4 separate regions of the Homo sapiens genome follow, and regions 1, 3 and 4 are each linked to region 2. The links are contacts of gene promoters, found by promoter capture Hi-C in blood cells and fetal thymus (Javierre and others, 2016). All regions are on one chromosome and are shown on one strand. The core of a region is centred on a gene start or on the middle of the fragment in contact, and the rest is flanking DNA. Distances in the headings are between cores, read along the strand shown. Region 1 overlaps MSI2 (musashi RNA binding protein 2). Region 2 holds the start of VEZF1 (vascular endothelial zinc finger 1). Region 3 overlaps AKAP1 (A-kinase anchoring protein 1). Region 4 has its middle 61 kb from the start of AKAP1.

The links. The method cuts DNA at HindIII sites, captures the fragments that hold promoters and counts their contacts. A CHiCAGO score of 5 or more calls a contact.
Region 1: a fragment that was not itself captured here is called in contact with the fragment with the promoter of VEZF1 in region 2 in 2 of 17 cell types (naive CD8 T cells and naive CD4 T cells); the score reaches 5.6 in naive CD8 T cells.
Region 3: a contact is called between a fragment that was not itself captured here and the fragment with the promoter of VEZF1 in region 2, in 1 of 17 cell types (fetal thymus). The highest score is 6.4, in fetal thymus.
Region 4: a contact is called between a fragment that was not itself captured here and the fragment with the promoter of VEZF1 in region 2, in 1 of 17 cell types (M0 macrophages). The highest score is 5.3, in M0 macrophages.

Annotation. Positions count from the first base shown.
Region 1 is chr17:57,259,792-57,264,796 of GRCh38, forward strand. MSI2 (musashi RNA binding protein 2) reads left to right here. Exons shown (of 14, transcript NM_138962.4): 5 at 2,360-2,401. Among named protein-coding and RNA genes, the nearest start is that of MSI2, 5.8 kb to the left of the region's middle. RefSeq lists an enhancer at 1-494. The HindIII fragment of the contact is 3,016 bases long and covers 252-3,267 here.
Region 2 is chr17:57,985,294-57,990,150 of GRCh38, forward strand. VEZF1 (vascular endothelial zinc finger 1) reads right to left here and starts at 2,961. Exons shown (of 6, transcript NM_007146.3): 1 at 2,786-2,961. The coding sequence starts at 2,818. LOC101929185 (a long non-coding RNA gene) reads left to right here and starts at 2,817. Exons shown (of 1, transcript XR_001752716.3): 1 at 2,817-4,857. It also overlaps a transcript of SRSF1 not described here. RefSeq lists silencers at 2,224-2,293, 2,374-2,853, 2,924-3,203 and enhancers at 3,354-3,403, 3,424-3,563. The HindIII fragment of the contact is 4,468 bases long and covers 340-4,807 here.
Region 3 is chr17:57,087,277-57,092,137 of GRCh38, forward strand. The region is part of intron 1 of AKAP1 (A-kinase anchoring protein 1); the gene reads left to right. Among named protein-coding and RNA genes, the nearest start is that of AKAP1, 4.5 kb to the left of the region's middle. RefSeq lists an enhancer at 4,136-4,685. The HindIII fragment of the contact is 1,333 bases long and covers 1,024-2,356 here.
Region 4 is chr17:57,143,914-57,148,459 of GRCh38, forward strand. No RefSeq gene overlaps it. Among named protein-coding and RNA genes, the nearest start is that of AKAP1, 61 kb to the left of the region's middle. The HindIII fragment of the contact is 1,113 bases long and covers 1,563-2,675 here.

The DNA.
Region 1 (5,005 bases), core at 510-3,009, 730 kb before region 2:
TTATCATCCACCCCCTCTTGCTACCTGGGTGGGAGAAACAGTATTTGGTTTCTGTGGTGGCTGGTGGGTCATATTCCTCTGTATCAGGTGCAAAGCCTGCAGTTTCCCTCTCTGATTGTTTATAGACATGTTTTGGTCACTATTATTTAGTGTAACCTAGCTTTTGACTTTGTTTCAACGTTCAGTGCAGGAGGCAGAAGCGGTTGGTTTATTGACATGGAAACGAGGATCTTGTTTACTGTTACCTTAAAAGCTTTGTTTAGGTAACGGCCATTCACATCCAAAATAGTACCCTAGTCTTTTCCTAGAGGACTTGTAGATACAGTAAGTAGAGCTGTACCTAACTAACTAATGTTTTAATTTTTGGTAGTTTTCTTTTTTGTTTGTTTTTTAAAAAATAGTTGACAGGGATGTGCAAAAGGTTGGGATTTGCCATGCTTAACTTGACCCTTCCTCTCCTTCAGAGATCTCAGCGTGTAAACTTTGCACACTGAGGAACTTCGATCATGATATAATGCTCTGATACGGCCACACACCATCCAGGAGTTCTGAATTGGCTTTTTCGTTTTGTGATTTAAATTTTCTTTAGTACTTCACTTTCTTCATTGCACCTTACTTCTTCCAGCTCCTGGCACCTCCCTCAACATACCCCACACCTGTTACCCCATAAACAAGGTGATTTCTGATTGCAATTGTGTGCCGGCCAACTAAAAAAAACACCCTCTGGGGAGTATTTATAAAAAGACACCTCTGTCTTACGTACGTCAACAGAATGGAAAATCCACACCTGTTGTATTTCTCTTGTAGACAAGCGCTAGTCAGTGCTGGACACACCTGTAGATGCAGTAATGTTAATCTTTATGAAAGGGTAGTTTTCTAGATCAGAGATTTTTGTCTATTTTAGTTTTTGAAAAGTAATCTCTCATTTCTCAGGTGATGTTTAAAGGTAGGGAATGCAATGCAGACTTTTATTAGGTCTTTAAGCCCCCGTAATAACAGCAGGAAATCCTCATATGTCTTTCTGGCTGGGACCCTAGGTGATGTAAGTCAGGGAACAAATGAACTATCCTCCGTGCTTCCCACTCCCCACCCCCACCTCCCTACTTTCCTCCACAGCATTACTCTTTTCTCCCCTGCTCCTTCTCATGGCAGAAGTGAAAACAAAGCTCAGATTTACTTTTTAAAAGGAAAACATTTTAATATGAAAGCCAAAGCCTGGAAATAAATAACTGGTAGCATGTTTATACTATCTGTGTTACATTTTTACCCAAAGATTTGTGACATTTAGAAATTCAATGAAAACCGACAACGGGAATATTTTCACATTTCTTTCCTCCTCTTTTTATCTGTGCAGTCACTTTTTTCCTCCCTCACATCAGCCTGTTAGATTCACATGCTTCCAGGAGAACTGTTCTGAGCTGTACAGCTAGACCCTGATTGAGCATCATGCGTTTTGCAAGTGTGTGATTTGGACTGGAGGATGTTTTTCCACTCGGATTGAGGTTGGGGTAGGGGAATTCCCTACTTGTTGCACTAGATTCTGACTACTTCTTGTATTCAGTAACTTTTTTTTTTTTTTGGTGCCCTCCCCATGATGGGATTTCTTTTCTAATTTGGGTTTAGGTTGCTTATAGATTTTTACTCCCTGTTGTTTTTAAAATCCAGGTGGATTTAGCTCACATGCTTCATTTTCTTTACTTCAAAAAATTATTTTTTATCTTTTGAGGTATAGCTACAGAACAGATGATCTTTTTGGTTAATCCTGGGTAACTTTACTTTTGCTAAAATGAATTAATTAACTCAAGCAGAGCACTGTGTTGGATGTCTGTGGGGAGTTTTTGGATGTTGTTGATTTAAAAAATTTTTGGAAGCTCCTTTCCCTCCTGTGTTGTTTAGTTATCATCAGGGAGAAGAAATACCATCCAATTACCTACTGCTAGAGAATACTTACATTTAATTTTCAGGTTATGATTTTTTTCCCAATGATAATGATGCTCCCATCTTTTCTCCCAGCCACGCATAGCAAATTAGATGTAGATACCATTTAATATTCAGTGTCTGGAAGAAGAAGCCCTTGCCTAAATAAGAATTACATGAGATCTGGTTTATTAAGAGCATCACACACTGAAATGCATGGTGGGTCATTTCAGAAAGGCTAGCTAGCTATGTTAGTTACCTGATCTGTTGGAGGGATGGTTAAAGTTGAGATCAAAGTTTAAGAAACTTTTGAGTTGCCTGAGAAGTTACTAAAAGCTGGATTATAAGCCTGAGAAATGAGTGATTAATAATTAGGTGATTAATCATATATTTTTTCCTTAAAGTACTTTATTGACTCCTGCTTTTCTATTTTTTTTCCCAGATTGACCCCAAAGTTGCATTTCCTCGTCGAGCGCAACCCAAGGTAAGTAGGAGAATAAACAGTAGGATTTTAGCACTCAGAGATGATTGCCAAGAATTTCAAATTTCAAACAGCATTGGCCATGAACTGTTGAAGCCTGGTATTCACTGTTCCTTCGGGGTATCAGGACAGGCTGGGCAAGTAGTCCTGTGAGATAACCATGCGTCTCTAAGTTAGCCATCCCAAGGTGGCTTCTGAACATCCACCTGGGGGCAGGGACAAGTCTGATGCTTAGTGGGAGGACGTGTTTCCATCGACTGCAGTATTTTTTGCAAGGATTCTATTTGTTTTTTAAGCATTTCCAATATCATATCAGGAAAAGTCGAACATTTCCTTGTGACTCTTTCGGAGGGTACTCTTTGAGGCTTTACAACTTGGAGTTAATGCAGAGGAGTAGAGTTTGACTAAACAGCTGATCCTTTCTTGGAAAAGACAACTTCTTAGGCCCATAAAGCCTTAAATCTGGGAGGGCAAGCAGTGGATATCTTGGTTTTAGGTTGGTTGGATAAGTCAGGGCATACTTGAAACCAACAGTGCTTCTTATTTGTGCAAGTGCTGGTGCCTGGGTGGAGAAGTCCTGAAAATGTTGTAACCTTGTAGGAGTGGCACTACAAGACTTGCTTAAAGAATTGAGATAGGGCTTCACTTTTTTAGAAGTGTGTCGTTAACATAGTTTTCACTGAGCTTGCCAGGTGTGGCTATGAGAACACAGTTGCTTGAAGCCTAAGGTTAAATTGGAAGGGCTTATGGCTTACATGTTACATTTACACTTTTTAGTTACTATTTTTCTTCCTTATGTAGCACTGGAAGAAATGCTTTTTATGTATCTTCGGGATTTGTCATTCTTTTAGGGAAAGGGGAAAAGTTGAAGCTTCTAAGTCGGAAAAGGTTGTGGCTTTAGCAAATTCAGTTTATTTCTTTATGCACAGTCTCCCAGAAGTGGAACCTTTTAATCGTGTAAAGAGAGGAATGGTTTTGCACATTAGTATAGAAAAAGTTGGTGATTGTGATGGTACTTTGAGAATTTCAGGTCTGGGGCATACCACTTGATTGATTGATTCCTTCCTTCCCTCCTTCTTTCTCTCCCTCCCTCCTTGTTCTCTTCTCCCTTTTTTAAAGATGGAAACACAACTTTTTAAGTAAATACAATGAAATATTTTCTTCAGGCATTTTTTTGTAATGCTTAAGCAAATGATAGGAATTAATGATTAGGTTATTTTTGTACTTAGCACAAACTTTGGAATTGCCCTTATTGTTTTAGTTACTTCCCAAACTGTCTGTGATCCTTCACATTTCAGAGGGCTTCCCAGAGTTAGCAGTATTTCCTGGGTTTGGAGGAATTGCTGTTTCTTCCATAAGTGTGAATCTTCAAATTTCCAGGTTAGTCATTTGATCACTCAGAGCTTGGATCAGATTACCCAAGAGGGAAGCTGGAAAAATCCCTTACTTGGTAAAACCATGGGTTTGACCTGTTTTTCTCTCCCCTTTGTTGTCCCCCTTCCTTAACTTTGTTTTTAAATGAGAAAAGCAATATTTCACTTTAATACACTCTGCAGTGATGCATTCAACTTGAAAACGAGACAGAATGTTTCTCAAACTTGTCAAAGTGTGCATTCCTTTCCCAACCCTCAACTCCACATCTGGAATGTTTGTAGGTGAATTAACATGAAACCACTTGGGGGAGAACATCTTTCCATGAATTCTAGGGATTTAATAATAACACCTTACTGTGTATGACATACTTCACTTTACGGAGGACTTGGCTGTTCATTATCTCCATCTGAATTCCATCTCCTGGGGCATTTGGCTGTTGTCCCTAACCTTCTCTCAGTCTCAGTGTGCTCATCTGTAAAGTAGGAGTGATGACATAGCTCTCCCAGAAGGTTTTTGTGTAGAGTAAAAGAGCATGGTCTGCGACAAAGGTCTTCGTCATTGTCATTATTTTTCTTGTCGGTTTTCTCATCATTGTTCCGGTTGTTGTTTGCAAGTGGGACAGCCTGGGTTCGGATGCTGGTGGTGCCACTCCTTAGCTGTGTGAATTTGAACAGGTCGTTTAACTTCCTTGAACCTTCGTTTTTCCATCTCATAGAGTTTTTCTGCAGATTACGTAAATTAATAAAGGTAAAGGGACTGAAAAAAAAAAGACGTTGCATGGTAATGCCATAGAAGCGTTAACCTGCTATCTTATTTATTTATTTATTTATTTTTGAGATGGGATCTCACTGTGTTGCCCAGGCTGGTCTTAAACTCCTGGGCCAAGCTATCCTCCCACCTCTGCCCCCCAGAGTGCTGGGATTATAGGCGTGAGCCACTGTGCCTGGCCAACCTGCTATTTTTTTCTGCCATTTTTATTAAGTCCTCACATCAATCCTGTGAGAGGTTGAGTAATAATAATGATACTAGTTGAATTTATATGCCAGGCACTATTGCAGAGACTTTATTAATCCATTTAATTCTCATGCAGCCCTATGAGGAGAGTACTAGTATGAGCTCATTTTGTAAATGAGGAAACGGAGGCACAGATGGATGTCCAGGAGCCATACCCAGGCAACCTGGCTGTAGAACTGGGCCCTTCACCACTGTGCCATGCTGTGGGGGTACCTCAGG
Region 2 (4,857 bases), core at 1,711-4,210:
ATTTTTACAGCATTGCTGAAGCTCACTCTCACAGGAGGGTCACACCAGGTCCCTGCTTCTTGGGTGAAATGCTGCAGAACCACTACAGGAATCACTCTCTGAGGATTCCTAGGATCCCCACACTTCTACAAGAAGCCTTCTAAGGGGGAACTGGGTTTTCCCAACTTCTTCTCTGGGGGAGAGACAGAGTAAAATAACAACCACGGCCAGCCTTCAGTTAAGTGATTTATTTTAAAAATATAACTTCTGGGTAGGCTTTTATTTGACTAGCATCATCAAACCAAAGTTTTAATTTTATATCCCATCTCTTTCAACTGCAAGGCTTTTTAACCCTGCCCAAGCTTTCCTTTTCCTGGGGCTGGCAAGAAACAAAACAGAAATGTTATTTCATCACCCAGGGTAGTAGGATATGGCACCATGAAATCTCCAGTGCCAGAGGGTAAAAGATTTTGTACTGAACAAATTAACATCGGTGAGTCACATCTTGAATGTCCTGTTAGAAGAATCATCCATCAAACATTTTAATAGCTATAGCTTTCACTTTCCACCAAGTTATCTGGAAAGCAAGCAGGTATTAAATTGTTTCAAAATATAAATTCAACAGGATGCTCCAGGAAACAAACAAGATAATTTAACTCCATATCCCCAGTGAAAATTACTTAAAACCAGAACTGATTAAGTCTATTCATACCTTTCCATAGAAAAGACTGAAATATTCTCTTTACCCATTCAACTGCTCTCGGCTCTAAATTTTAAGTTTTCCAACAAATTTCACTGCACACATTGCCAAGCCCAGGATTAAATATTTGTTTTCACACTTCTCCATCAGGTGGAAAAAAAGATTTTAATAGCTGAAAAAAATTAAATAATATAAAATCTAATTAAAAAGTTGATCAATAAACGCTTGGCATTTGTTTTACCCAGGAGAAAAATAATCTTTAAAAAAGTATTTCAAAAGATTTTTCAACCAGCTTTCCAAAGATGTGTTATGGGTTTTTCCTTTACATGAAGAACACTTTTTTTTTTCAATCTCTATAGACACCATGCTTAATATGGTTTTTAATCACACGAAAATCACTTCAGTGGCACATCAATCCCATATTTTAAAATAACCATTTGAGCTTTTTTCTGGGGAAAGTATTTGCCACCTTTACACCAACCTGGATGCATGCTAGTTATATATCATTTCTTTTCCAATGCATTTTCAAGTTGGTTTATCACATTATTAGCAAGCTCATCAAAGTACAATAAAACAACACTGATCAGAATGAGAAAAGGGGGAAGTTCATGAATTCCATAATGTTGGGTATTTTAGATTTTAAGAAGCCCAAATATATTTCCATAACTACTTAAAGATCAAATTGCCCACATTTGAAAAAATATGTCTTAAAACAACAGGCCAGTCTACACAGTAGGTAATTTCTGAGTTATCCAATTCTCTATATTAACTCCACTAGGATGAATCCAGTGGCTGGGAGAATAATTTTTTGAAAATTCTGCATCCGTTCCTGTTAGTTTCAAAAGGTATCAAGCGCCCCAGCTACGCGTTTGGGATTTCACGAAGTATTCAAAGGAAAATAACTCAGAGAGGCGGGAAGAACGCACTTAAAAGTGACGAGCTTCCTAACCTCCTCCAGTTCCGAAGTTTCCCCGTGAGCTCATCGCTACTGCCCACTGAATGCTTCGTTTTGCAAACAGAAACGAAGTAGGAAAAAAATAAGTTCCAGCCTAGATCTGCCAAACAGGGGTCCCCCATCTAAAGTGGGCGGGCAAGAGAATTGCCAAAACACATCGGCTACAGTCACTTTCAAGTTTCTTGCAAAAAAGCGAAGACCAACATCCCAGAGAGTGACTCATCTGGGGGCTTTGTAAGCGGACTTTGTTTGCTCTCTCCACTTGGTTGGAGGAAACGTTCGAGGTGGGCGAGAAAGAAAAGCGCTTCGGGAGAAGGTCGGGCCTCCAGGAGTCCCGGCCCCCACCGCTCCCCGCCTGCCCCGGGCCGGCCCGGCTGGGGGATTCCCCAGGCTGAATGGGACGGCGGGAGAGCTGGACAGAGGGAGAAGGTGTCAGCTGCCAAGGCTCGGCTGAGACTTGGGAAAAAAAAATGTAAATCCAGTGAAAAAGTTTGGGGAGGGGATACACACTCACAACATCCGCCCCCCCAACTGGGTAAACACGAGAGGGGTGGTGGCGGTGAGGGGGAGTGGCGGGGAACCTGGGGATACCCGCTATTCGCGGGGACACGGGAGGGGGTCAGAAAGTCAACACACGCACGCACACACACAAAAAGACGAGGAAGGTGAAAAGAGAACAAGCGAAAGATGGATGAAGTGGCGGGGAGGAGACTCAGGGCAGGACCTGGGGACCTCCTCACCCCACCGTGGGGGACCGGGCCGGCACGCAATGGCCCAGCAGCCCGCGCTATCCAGCGGCCCGGCGCCCTCCTTTCTCTGGGCCGCGGGGTGGTGACAGCGACCGGCCTCCTCCCTTCCCCTTCAGAGCGAGAGGGAAGGGTGTGTGTGAGTGTGTGTGTGTGCGTGTGTGTGCTGGGGGGCCCCCGGGTTCACCCCGCGGCCTGCTATCTCCCCCGCACCCCGTGAGGCCGCCTCCTTTCACCTCAGCAGCCCCGCTTCGCCGGGGCGGGCGGGCGGAAAAACAAAGGGGGATTAAGGCCGGGCCGGAGAGCGGAGCCGGGAGGGAGGGGAGGAGGAGCGCCCGCCCGCCCGCCAGCCCGGGGCCCGGCCCCCCTGTCCCCCCCGTGCCCCCCCGGGGGGGCCCCCAGTACCTGGAACAGGAACGCGGTCCAGTTGGCCTCCATGGCTGCGGCGGCCGACCCCCCTCCTCCCCACTCCCCCCGCTCGGGGAGCCTCCTCAGCCGGAGGAGGCGACAACAAAGCGGCGGCGGCGGCGGCGGCAACGGCAGCGGCGGCTCCTCAACATGGCAGCGCCGAGCGCGGCCACTTCCGGTAACCTCCGGGACGCACCACCGCGGCGGCGAGCGCGGGCGGGGGGGGAGCCCCGGCCCGGCCGCCGCCGCCCCCAGTCGCCCGGACCCCCTCTGGGCGTCCCCGCTGCCGGCTCGCCGCCTCGGAGCTCAGCCAGTGCCCGCTGGCGGTGGGGTCAGGGCCCCCGCGGGGGGGCTGGGGTGGGGCCCGGGGCGGGGATGGGGCGCGGCGTCCCCCCCCGCGGGGGTGTGTGGTGCTGCGGTCCGTGGCTCAGGCAGCTGGAGCAGGGGGAGCTCAGGAGAGAAGATGGAGGACGCCAGGGTCTGGCGCTGGCCCGCTGGGCACAGCTGGGCCGTCTCCCGTGACTCAGACACGGTGTCCAGCACCGTCGCGTCCCTGTTAGACCCTCAGCGGAGGGCACAGGCCACGGCGGACACTCGGCTCTTCAGTCGCTCATGCACAGCATGGTCCCCACCTCCAAACTGGGGGAAGCCCTTTCGACTTCGAGCCTCTCTTCCTTTTGGCATTTCCTCCCCGGCCGGCTAAGCCCTCTGCGCTCTCGCTATGATATGCATCTCATGGCGAGATGGCCTTCCAACTCAAGCAGGGAATCCCACTGGGGTGCAGCCTCAGATCCTCTCAGTGTGGAGGGAAACACTTCCCACGCGTAGAGATGTCATTACTGGGTTATTCTTGGGTGAAGGGCTGAGCCTCCCCATCCTCCCCTTCACTCCAAGATAGGATGTGAAATTCTATCCCAACACCCCTCCTCTCCCGCCAAAAATAAAAACAAGTGAGATAGTATAGACAAATTATTTTAGTCCTTTAGTACAGTCTGTTTCCTCCTTCACCCCCAGAACAAAAATCGAACTTCTGGTTGGACAGCGTCAGATGTCACTGAGGTGACCCCAGCCTGTTTGCAGTTCCAAGTCTTCCGTGTAGGCGTCACTGCTACTGGAACTTTGTAGATGAGGAGCCTGTATGATGATGTCCTGAACATTTCTATCCTTTCCTCACACAGAGGGAAGCTACTGGGAATATCAGAGACAAGCTATTATTAAACAAGTGTCTCTAGTCCAAGACATCTCCTGTGGCAGGGAAATGAGGGGGCAGGCTGTATCAGTGATATTTTTATAAACTCTGGTTTTAGAAAAAATTCTTCAGATGGACGCATTATTTTAAGACTTTAACATTTTCCAAAACCAACTGAATCTTATCCCCTCCATTTATCCCCCTCCAGACACTTCTAATCAAGGTCACCATCTCCAACTTCCCCCATAGACAATAAAAATATGGCTGGAGAATTCTACTGTAATAGAAAACCAAGGAGATATAGTAATTTGACAGTGTGTTTCCTTTCCATCCACTAGACAAGAATACCCCCTCCCATTCTTTCCTCCCCTCAGTCACCAGAATGAAGGGGCTGGAAAACGTTGGTCTGGTTCCTTTTAGAGCTGATTCCCCATTGGATACTGCCTGGAGGCCTTGGGGATGAATGAGAAGTTCTGCAGTTTGGATCAGTAGCAGAAGCAGGTAACACATCAGGGAACCGGTCAGCCTAAGATAGGAGGGGACAGAAAATGATGAAAGAGTTTCTGATACATTTATCAGCTAAATTGCTATGGTCACCCCCATGTCTCCTGTAATGTCCAAACCTAAGGAATTAACTAAGTAAACTAAAACCTTTGTGTTCTTGCTCTGACCTTGGACAATGGAATTCTTCTTATTTTCATTCAGTGGATAGCAAATCTGCTTCTTCCCTGCCTTAACTCACTCAAGGTCTCTGTGATGCACTCCAGAGTTTTCCTCCTTCCCTGCATAGTCTTCTCCTCCCTAGCTGCCTTTCAAATTGGTGAAAATGAAGCTTCAGGATTATGAAAACTAGTACTTAATGAAGACCATTATTCTAATG
Region 3 (4,861 bases), core at 440-2,939, 900 kb before region 2:
TCTAGTTCCTTGTAGGAATATCTCTCCCATCTCCCAGTTGTTTCTAGGAAATGCATTCTCACTTGGCCACTGCAGGGTGACAGTGGAGGTGTCTGTTGTAAGTGGCCTGCTCAGGTGCTGAAGTCGATATGTCTCCAGTGTAAGGTTGCTGAACATCAATATTTAAAAGCAATTTATCTTGCTGCCTGGTAACCCAAATTATTCTTGAGCTTTGGACATAGGCTGGGTTGCAGCCATATTTTAGGGGAAGGCTGGTGTTAGCCTCTACAGTATTCCCTTTTCCTGTCCTAAAGACAAATGGAGATCATATTTGTGATACTGGGGACTGTGATAGGTGCTTAAGCATTGCTCTTCCCCTCTCCTCCCTGAACAATCCCTGAGACTGACTTTGTTTCTCTTGAATTACTTGAGTGACTTGAATTCTATTAAAAGCACCCCTCTCCTTAGCCTCTGACCCAGAAGCTTGTTTGGGAGGAAAAACGAATTGGTTTCCCTAAGCTTTGCTGGCTAGCCTCCTGCTCCCAGCCTGCAACATGACTTGATTGTGTGTGCATTTCAGGGCTTTGAAGAGCAGGCAGCTTGTAGCCAATGTACCCAGAGAGCTGGCCGTAGAGTTCCCCTAGGTCACTCCTTCCTAATCTTCCCTGTGAGTCTGAATGATTGGGCCTTTCTGTAGCTTGGTCTGTTTTCCTATTGTGGGGAAGTCAGTTGTTTCAGGTATGAGTTAATACCTTCAGCTTGTCATTCTCAGGCGTTTTCTTCCACTATGGGGAGGTAGTAGATCCTGTGGGCATCTTGTCCCATTGAAATCATCTCATATACTGTTTGAGAGTTGCTCATCTTTATGGTGGGGGGTGTATTTTAGTCCTAAATCTTGCTTCTTAGGGCAAGTTCTGTTTCTTCCATGTTCCTTCCTGGTGTAATACCTCAGGCAGTTTTCACTTTTATGATCATTTAACATTAAGTTCCCATCACATGTGGCATCCCACTGAAGGAACCTCCTGGCCTTGGTACCTAATTTGAAGCTTGGGCTGTGGAAAACATCATCAGTGAGCATGTTTGAAGTAGGACAGAGTCTGGCTGGAGAAACAGGTAGTGGGGGAGCTGGGAGCTAAACTTGAGAGGATGCCTCTTTCTTGATAGTTACTGTGCTAGGTGAGTTATGAGCACACTAATCCTTTAATCCTCACACCTCTGAGAACAGTGAGGGTGAAGCTGGAGGTCATTCTGGATTGTTTCAGTGGCTGTCACACAAATTCAAATTGAGGGGTAGAGGAACTAGGAAGCGTGGGTGTGGAGTTAAAACTAGGTCCTCTGGATGGCTTTTGTGAGAAGAACCAAGGAATATTCTTAAATCCCTGGGCTTTTCTCCTAATCTTTCTGCTGCTTTCTAAGTAGATTGTTAACATTGTGTGTGTTATCATTCAGCATTCTGAGAACTAGCTTTCCAGCAATAAATAGCTTTCAAGGTGTCCTTTGCCTTAACTTTTTCATTTTACTAAATGGTGCAGCCTTGTCCACATTCTGTCCGGGTCTTCACCATCTGGTTGTTTTTCCGGCTTGGTTTGATAGTTTGCAGCAGTCAGTGGTAAACATTGTGTTCCCTGTTCTGTAATGGTGGCTGGTTGTGTTCACCGAGCCAGGTGTCACTAAGGCCCAGTTGCACTTGGGAGCAAAGAAGGGCCCTGAGGTGAGTCCTGGAAGTAAAAATATGTATAACCTAGGGCTGATGAGGCTTGTTTCACTGCTGGGCTTAGCTGACAAGAGCCTGGGACTTGCTGCAGCTCTCAGAGCTGAAACCTGGCGGTGATTCTAGGCAGGCTGGTTGGCCTTCCAGATCTTGGTTTATTCAGTGGCTAAAAGAGGTTTGGTCAAAATTATCAGTATTCAGATTATGGTCCTGGGAGCCTTGGAGTTAGACCAAACGTGCCCAGGGGCCACTGGAGTGATGTGTTTGGGCTGGGGAGCACAGCTCAATGGGTAGTACATGTCAAAGACTTAAGGGGAAAAAAAACAACTCACTGTTCATCTCAAGTTCTTAGCTCTAAGGTGTGCTACTGTTCTAAATATTTTTTATTTTTAAAGATAGCTTTATTTGCCTAAATTTGTCCTGGGTGTGGGGAGTTTAGAGCTGCCTTGTCTGTAGGGTAGCTGCTAGCTGTGTGACTAATTAAACTTTTCAAAGTATTTTTAAAAAAATTTCTTAGTGACATTAGCCACATTTCAGGTTCTCAGTGGCCTCGTGTAGCTAGTGGCTGCCGTCCTGGTCAGTACAGGTCAAGAACATTTTCCATAATCGAAGAAAGTTTTGTTGGACAGCGCCGGCCTAGAAAGTTTTTTTTTCTCCAACTCTAAAAGCTTAATTGTCTCAACTTGTAAATCTCTAAAGCATAACATGTTTGAGCTTAGTCTTCCAGAGTCCATAAACCCAACAGCTTTGGTGACAAATTATCTACTGGTTGTCTCCATGGCATACTACAAGTGAGTTCTAGTCTGCCAGTTGGGAGTGGACGAACAGTTTTGAAACAGTTTGAGTGAGGACCTTCAGAAAGGACCTGGGGACAGGAGCGTGAAGCAAAGGTCCAGATGCTAAGCCCTTAGAAAGCCCTTTTGGTTTGAAGCCGTTTATTATCATAAAGATCCCTGCTGGTTTGTCCTTGGTCTCCAAATGTCAGATGTCAACATATTGTTACTTGGTCCTTCACCCACCTGATGACTTCCTACAGATCTCAGTGCGGCCCTTCTCTTAAACGAGGTTGTGTTTTCATTCTGCTGTTTCCAGTCCACCTAAATGTTAGGGGCCATTCTTCACAGAAGGTGTTGGGGGAGAGTGGGGCCACAGCGTGGATGCTAACGTGTTCTGTTGTGGCAGGGGTGGGGAGTTCTTTGTTTCCAGATGCCCCCTCTTCTAGTCCTGGGTGTGCTTTGTTTGAACCCTGCTAGATTGACCTTTGGTATATATAATGTGAGATCTCTTTTCTTGGAGCCAGGCAGCATAAAGGACACTTACTGATGAGCACCTACTGGCATATTAGTGGCTTTTTTTTTTCTGTGTCATTTTTATTCTCTGTCAGCCCTATGAGGTTAGTACAGTGATTAGTTTGTGGGTGAAGAAACAAGATCCGAGTAGAGTAAACTGGTCCCTGGACACAGCAAGGGCTGGACTGGCTTGGACCTGGGCTGGGGCGTGCTCCCCACCTCCTCCTCTGCCCCTGCCGCCCCCCATGCTCATTGGTTGTTGCTTATTTACTGCCCCTTTATCACCACATCCTCATTCAGGAAACTAAACTGGGTTTTACAAAGATTAAAATCATTGATCCCACATATGGAGTCTGACTTAAGTGTGTTCAGCCTCGTTACAACTCTGTGAGGGAGATATTCCCTATTACAGAACATCTTCATTTTATGGGAAACTGAAGTACAGGATCCTACTCTTAACTCTCTTGTCTTTCCAAAGCCATATTTTATCATCAGAATTATGCAACCATCGGGTGCTTTTGAAATGCACAAGTAATGACTATGAATAAAAAAAGCTGTGCCTGAGGGCTCAGGGAAACTGCTCTGAAGACTGAGCTGATTGAAAAAGACAATCCTGAAGTCACTAATTTCCCGACACCTGTCAGACCTCACTTGGAGGTCACAGACCATCTCCTGGCCCTCCAAAGGCTGTCACCCAGCAGTAGCTGGCCTCCTGATTAGAGGAGGCAGTAAGATCTTTTCAAGCACAGCCCCAGCCCCCATCCCTTCTCTGGCCTGGGCCTGGATGTGCCTTTGTGAGGTTGGGTCGATGACAGATCTGAAGGACAGTTCAGTCTTCTGTACACTCCTTCTTGCCCCTCCTTTCTGCCACTCCCAAGAAAAAGGAGCAGGAGTGATTCTCACTTTCCTGAACTGCCTTGGAGGGAGACCCACACTCAGCTGTGCCTTTAGCTGTCTCTGGGAGAAAAGGCCGTGCTGCAAATAACCTCCCTGCTTTGTCCTTTGGCTTTGGTGTGGCTCACCTGGCCAAGCATGTGCTGGTGCTATTTTTAGCAGGTGGCATCCTTTAGGAGGGCCAAGTGCATGTGGCTGCAGTGTACGGGACAGGTCCTGGTGCCAAAGCTGCTGCTGTCTCTGCTGCCACCGCCTCGTCAGGAGAGAGAGGAGAATAAAGCCACCCTGGAAGCTGCCAAGGGGTGTGTGGAGGGGGTGGCTGCTTAAGAGGTCTCCAGGGCTGCCTTTTCTATTCTGGATCTGTGGCAGGGGCCCAGCCTGCCTCCTGGTGCAGGCAGGCATGTGACTGAGGCAGCCCGGGGAGCTGGGGAGCTGGGGAGCTAGGTGTCAGACTGCTGCCTGGGGAGTGAGGACCCCTTGTTGCCCCAGCAGGCAATTTTTCAGGAAACCACATAACCCCATTAAAAACATTATTTATTTATTTATTTATTTATTTAGAGATGAGGTCTTGCTTTGTCACCCAGGCTAGAGTACAGTGGCTCGATCATAGCTCACTGCTGCCTTGAATTCCTGGGTTCAAGGGATCCTCCTGCCTCAGCCTCCCAAGTACCCGGGACTATAGGTGCACATCATGATGCCTGGCTAGTTAAAAAAATTTTTTTTGTAGTGATGGGGTCTCATCACCTTGCCCAGACCCATTTCAAGACTCCTAGGCTCAAGTGATCATTCCATGTTGGTCTCCCAAAGTGCTGAGATTACAGGTGTGAGCCACCGTGCCTGGCCCCATAACTTCATTTTTGTGTGAAGTTGCCCAGCCTAAAGGCTGGCCACTAAATGGACACTTAAAAACTCTCTAATAGTGTGGATTGGTGGGCAGTCTGATTCCTCTGGCTTAAACCAAAATGCAAACATGAAAGGAGGCATGGCC
Region 4 (4,546 bases), core at 869-3,368, 840 kb before region 2:
AATGGGTCTCTAGTAGGATGTGGCCAATAATTAGATGAGTCCATAACCTGACAGATGCTCACCTGGGAGATAGAGAGGTCGGGGGACCTTGTGAGGGGCCAGGGACTCCAACAGAATAAGCTGTAAGCGGGAACAGGAAGGGAACGGATGTGCAAAGTCATGAACTCTGAGCTGTCTTCCTAGCTCAGCTCCTGTTCTGTGTGACCTTGAGCAGGTCACTTGCCTTCTCTGAGCTTTAGTTCCTCATCTATAAATGAGGAATGTGGACGTGCTGACCTACAAGATTCTTTTTTTTTTTTTTTTTTTTTTGAGATTGAGTCTCACTCTGTGTCCCAGGCTGCAGTGCAGTGGCTCACTGCAGCCTCGACCTCCTGGGCTCAGGTGATCCTCCCACCTAAGCCTCCTGAGTAACTGGGACTACAGGCATGTGCCACCATGCCTGTCTAATTTTTGCATTTTTTTTTTCAGTAGAGACAGGGCTTTGCCATGTTACTCAGGCTAGTTTTGAACTCCTGGGCTCAAGCAATCTGCCTGCCTCGTACTCCCAAAGTGTTGGGATTATAGGCGTGAGCCACTGCGCCCAGCTGGTTCTTTTCTTCTCTGACATTAAAATGACTCTGAGGCCTATGATCATGGTCCTCTGGGTGGGGAAGGTTGGGAAGATCTCATCTGAGTTTAGCTTATCCCTAGGCCTTGACCAATCGCTGATGCTCCTTAAGGGTCTCCTACATTTTGGAGGCATATGCAGAAGGAACCTGAAGTCACAAGATCAGAGGTCCTGCGGCAGTTTAAATAACAATAGCAACAACTGCTACGACTACTTCTCCCATTATTCAGCACAACTGCAGCTGGGGGATTTAGGTTCATGGTCTGCAGCTAACATTTATTGCGGACTTACTCTGGGCCAGGCACCATTCCTTACGCTTTATGTATATTATCCTGCTTCACCCTCCCAACGACCCCAGGAGGTAGGTACTGTAGCTTCTACAGGAGGTAGAAGCAGAAGCACAGAAGCCTAGTGTGTGTCCCAGGCCACACAACCGGTAAGTGAGATTGTTAAGATGCCCCCGGGAGTCTGTCTCCAGAATCTGTGTTCCTCATCACTCCTGCATACTCCCCATTTACAAGGGCAGAAACTGAGGCTACAGGAGGTTAATTGATCTGTGAACAGCCAGGATCCTGGGAGTTCTCAGACCTGTCCATTTTGTGAGAAGGGAAAAAGTCTCGCTGCTCCTTGTGTTTCTTTCTGTTTTTCCAAGTCAGTCCATTTTTTTTCTTGTAACAAAAGTCTATTTACGGAAGAGACATATAGGACCCAAGATAACCATGCATCAGTCATGCTTCAGTGAACTCCCAAATCAAAGATGGGCTGGATAACGTGTACCCGACGCTCTTGGCTTTTTCAGCATTTCAGACGTTTTTGTTGTTGTTCCCTCTGTGGGTTGAAACCAGGCTTTTGTGACTTGATGAGGACACATTTTTCCTGGGGTGTAATAATGCCACTGGTGTTAGCCCTAATGCTGAAGAGAGAACATTTGCTATTTTGGAAGAGTTAATCCCAAAGCTTCTTTCTTTTGCTCCTGCCTTTAGAAAAGGCATTTCTGAGGCAGGTCCAGGCAAGAGTACTGCCTCTGTAATCCGCCCTCAATCATCTTAGCGCTAATCACCGAGCTTCATTGAGTACTTTGTAATGTGCCAAGCTGGGAGCTGAAGGCTGATTTGATTCTCTTAACATCTTCTGAACGGGTATAGCTGTTACCCCCATATTACAGATAGGGCACTGAGGCATGGAGCTTAAATGGCTTGACCAAGATGCCCCGGCAGCAAGGGGCAGAGCTGGGAATAGAACCCCGACTCCAGACATAGGCTATTAATGCCACAGTCTGCTACTCCAGGACTGACCATTACGTTTGTGGGGAGTGGGAGGGGAATGAAACTGCAGGGCCTCTTGTTCAACAAAGATTAAGACTTTAAGACTGCTGGGTGCAGTGGCTGAAGCAGTTTGGGATGCTGAGGTGGGAGGATCGCTTGAGCCCAGGAGTTCAAGACCAGCCTGGGTAACATAATGAGACCTCCGTCTCTATCTTTTAAATATAAAAAACTAAAAAATTAAAAATAAAAATAATGTAGGCCGGGCATGGTGGCTCACGCCTGTAATCCTAGCACTTTGAGAGGCCAAGGCAGGTGGATCACCTGAGGTCAAGAGTTCAAGACCAGCCTGGTCAACATGGCGAAACCCCGTCTCTACTAAAAATACAAAACTTAGCCAGGTGTGGTGGCACATGCCTGTAATCCCAGCTACTCAGGAGGCTGAGGCAGAAGAATCGCTTGAACCCGAGAGTTGGAGGTTTCAGTGAGCCAAGATCGCGCCATTGCACTCCAGCCTGGGCAACAAGAGTGAAACTCCGTCTCAAAAAAAAAAAAAAAAAAAGTGTTAAGACTGTGACGGCAGAGTATTAACCAACTGTGGAGCCCTTCTCAGTATGAGGCCCTGTGTGACTGCACAGGACAGATGCCCAGGAAGCTGGCCCTGACTACCCCTTTGGGCAGTTCCCTGGCTGTCTTCCAGCTTCCAGCCCTCTTTTCCAGGGGGACAAAAGCACCTTGGCCCAGGCAATGTGCTTTATACCGCCCTGACAGCTATGAAAAAGAATGGCACAGCCTGGGCTTTAGAAAGCTTGGGTTGCTGCAGGTTCCTTCTGAGCAGCAGGCAGAGAGGGCTCAAGCCAAGACTGGGTGCCCCAGCCCATCTTCTGCCTCATCGGTGCCCCCGAGGGCTGGCACTTGGCGAAGCCCCACCCCACCTCCAGGCTGTGTCTTGTGGAGAACACAGCCCCTCTGGACTCCTCCCTGTCTCTGCCCATCCTGTGGCTATGTTCATGATGGGGCCTCCTGGAGGTTCAGAGAGGGCCAGAACATTGTCCTTTCTTTAAGCTTTGGTTTATTAAACAATGGAGAAATGTCAAAACGGATTGCAAAAATTGTGGTGTGCTTCAAATGTGTGCATGTTTAAAATCAAGGCCATTATTATAAAAACAAATAAGATGCAATATAAATGTGCTTTTCCCAAGACAGTTACTGGATTTATTCATTCCCAGCTCACATACACAGTAGAACCCGGTAATGGAATACGTGGTGTTATGATATAGATGGGCTGTTGTCCACGGCTTCTGCTTCATATCTCCCATAGCCCCTGTTACAGCCTTTACTTATAATGTTGGGTGTATTAGGCCTCAGGGGCAGGCTTCAGGAAACAGAATCTCTCTCTTGCCCTCCATTCACCTAACTCAAGATAGGACTCTCATTTTCTTTTTTTATTGAGATGGAGTCTCGCTTTGTCACCCAGGCTGGAGTGTAGTGGCGCAATCTCAGCTCACTCCAACCTCTGCCTCCTGGGTTCAAGTAATTCTCCTGCCTCAGCCTCCTGAGTAGCTGGAATTACAGGTGCCCACCACCATGGCTAGCTAATTTTTGTATTTTTAGTAGAGACACAGTTTCACCATGTTGGCCAGTCTAGTCTTGAACTCTTGATCTCAGGTGATCCGCCCGCCTCAGCCTCACAAAGTGTTGGGATCACTGGTATGAACCACTATACCCAGCCTCAACTTCCCCTGCCTTTCTGATTGTGGGTCTTAAGGCTTTCTTCAGAGAGGGTCCCACCCTGTACCCTGGGGGGAAAATGCTTTGAAACTTCCATAAATACCCAAGAGGACTGGGTTGGGGGAGCTCCCGGATAGCTGAACGTGTGAAGCCTGGTATCCCAGGGAGGGGATGGAAGCTCCACGCCCTTTCTCCTATACCCTATGCATCTCTTCATCTGTATCCTTTGCAATATCCTTTTTTGGAGACAGAGTCTTGCTCTGTGCCCAGGCCGGAGTGCAGTGGTGTGATCTTGGCTCACTGCAACCTCTACCTCCCGGGCTAAAGCCATCCTCCCACCTCAGCCTCTTGAGTAGCTGCGATTACAGGCATGCGCCATCACGCCTGGCTAATTTTTGTATTTTTTGCAGAGACGAGGTTTCACCATGTTGGCCAGGCTGGTCTCGAACTCCTGGCCTCGAGTGATCTGCCCACCTTGGCCTCCCAACGTGCTTGGATTACAGGCGTGAGCCACTGTGCCTGGCTGCGATATTCCTCATAATGAACTGGTAAATGCGAGTGTTCCCCTGAGTTCTGTGAGCTGCTCCAGCAAATTAATTGAACACAAAGAGGGTGGTGGGGGCAATTGTGAAGCCAATCAGTCAGAAGTTTCAGAGGCCTGGACTTGCCACTGGTGTGTGCTGGAGGGCAGTCACGGGGACTAAGCCCTCAGCCTGTGGGAGCTGACGCTATCGTAGTGTCTGAACTGAATTGGAGGACACCCCCCTGGGGTCCGCTGCTTGGTGTGTGGGGAAGAAACACACATACCTTTGGTCATAAAAATTCTGTGTTGATTGCTGTGGTGTGACAGCTGAGGAAAAATGTGGCTGGAGAGAGTTTTTCCCTATAGAATATAATTATTTTTTAGTTTTCATTGAGGTATAATGCACGAAGTATGGGGAAAGTG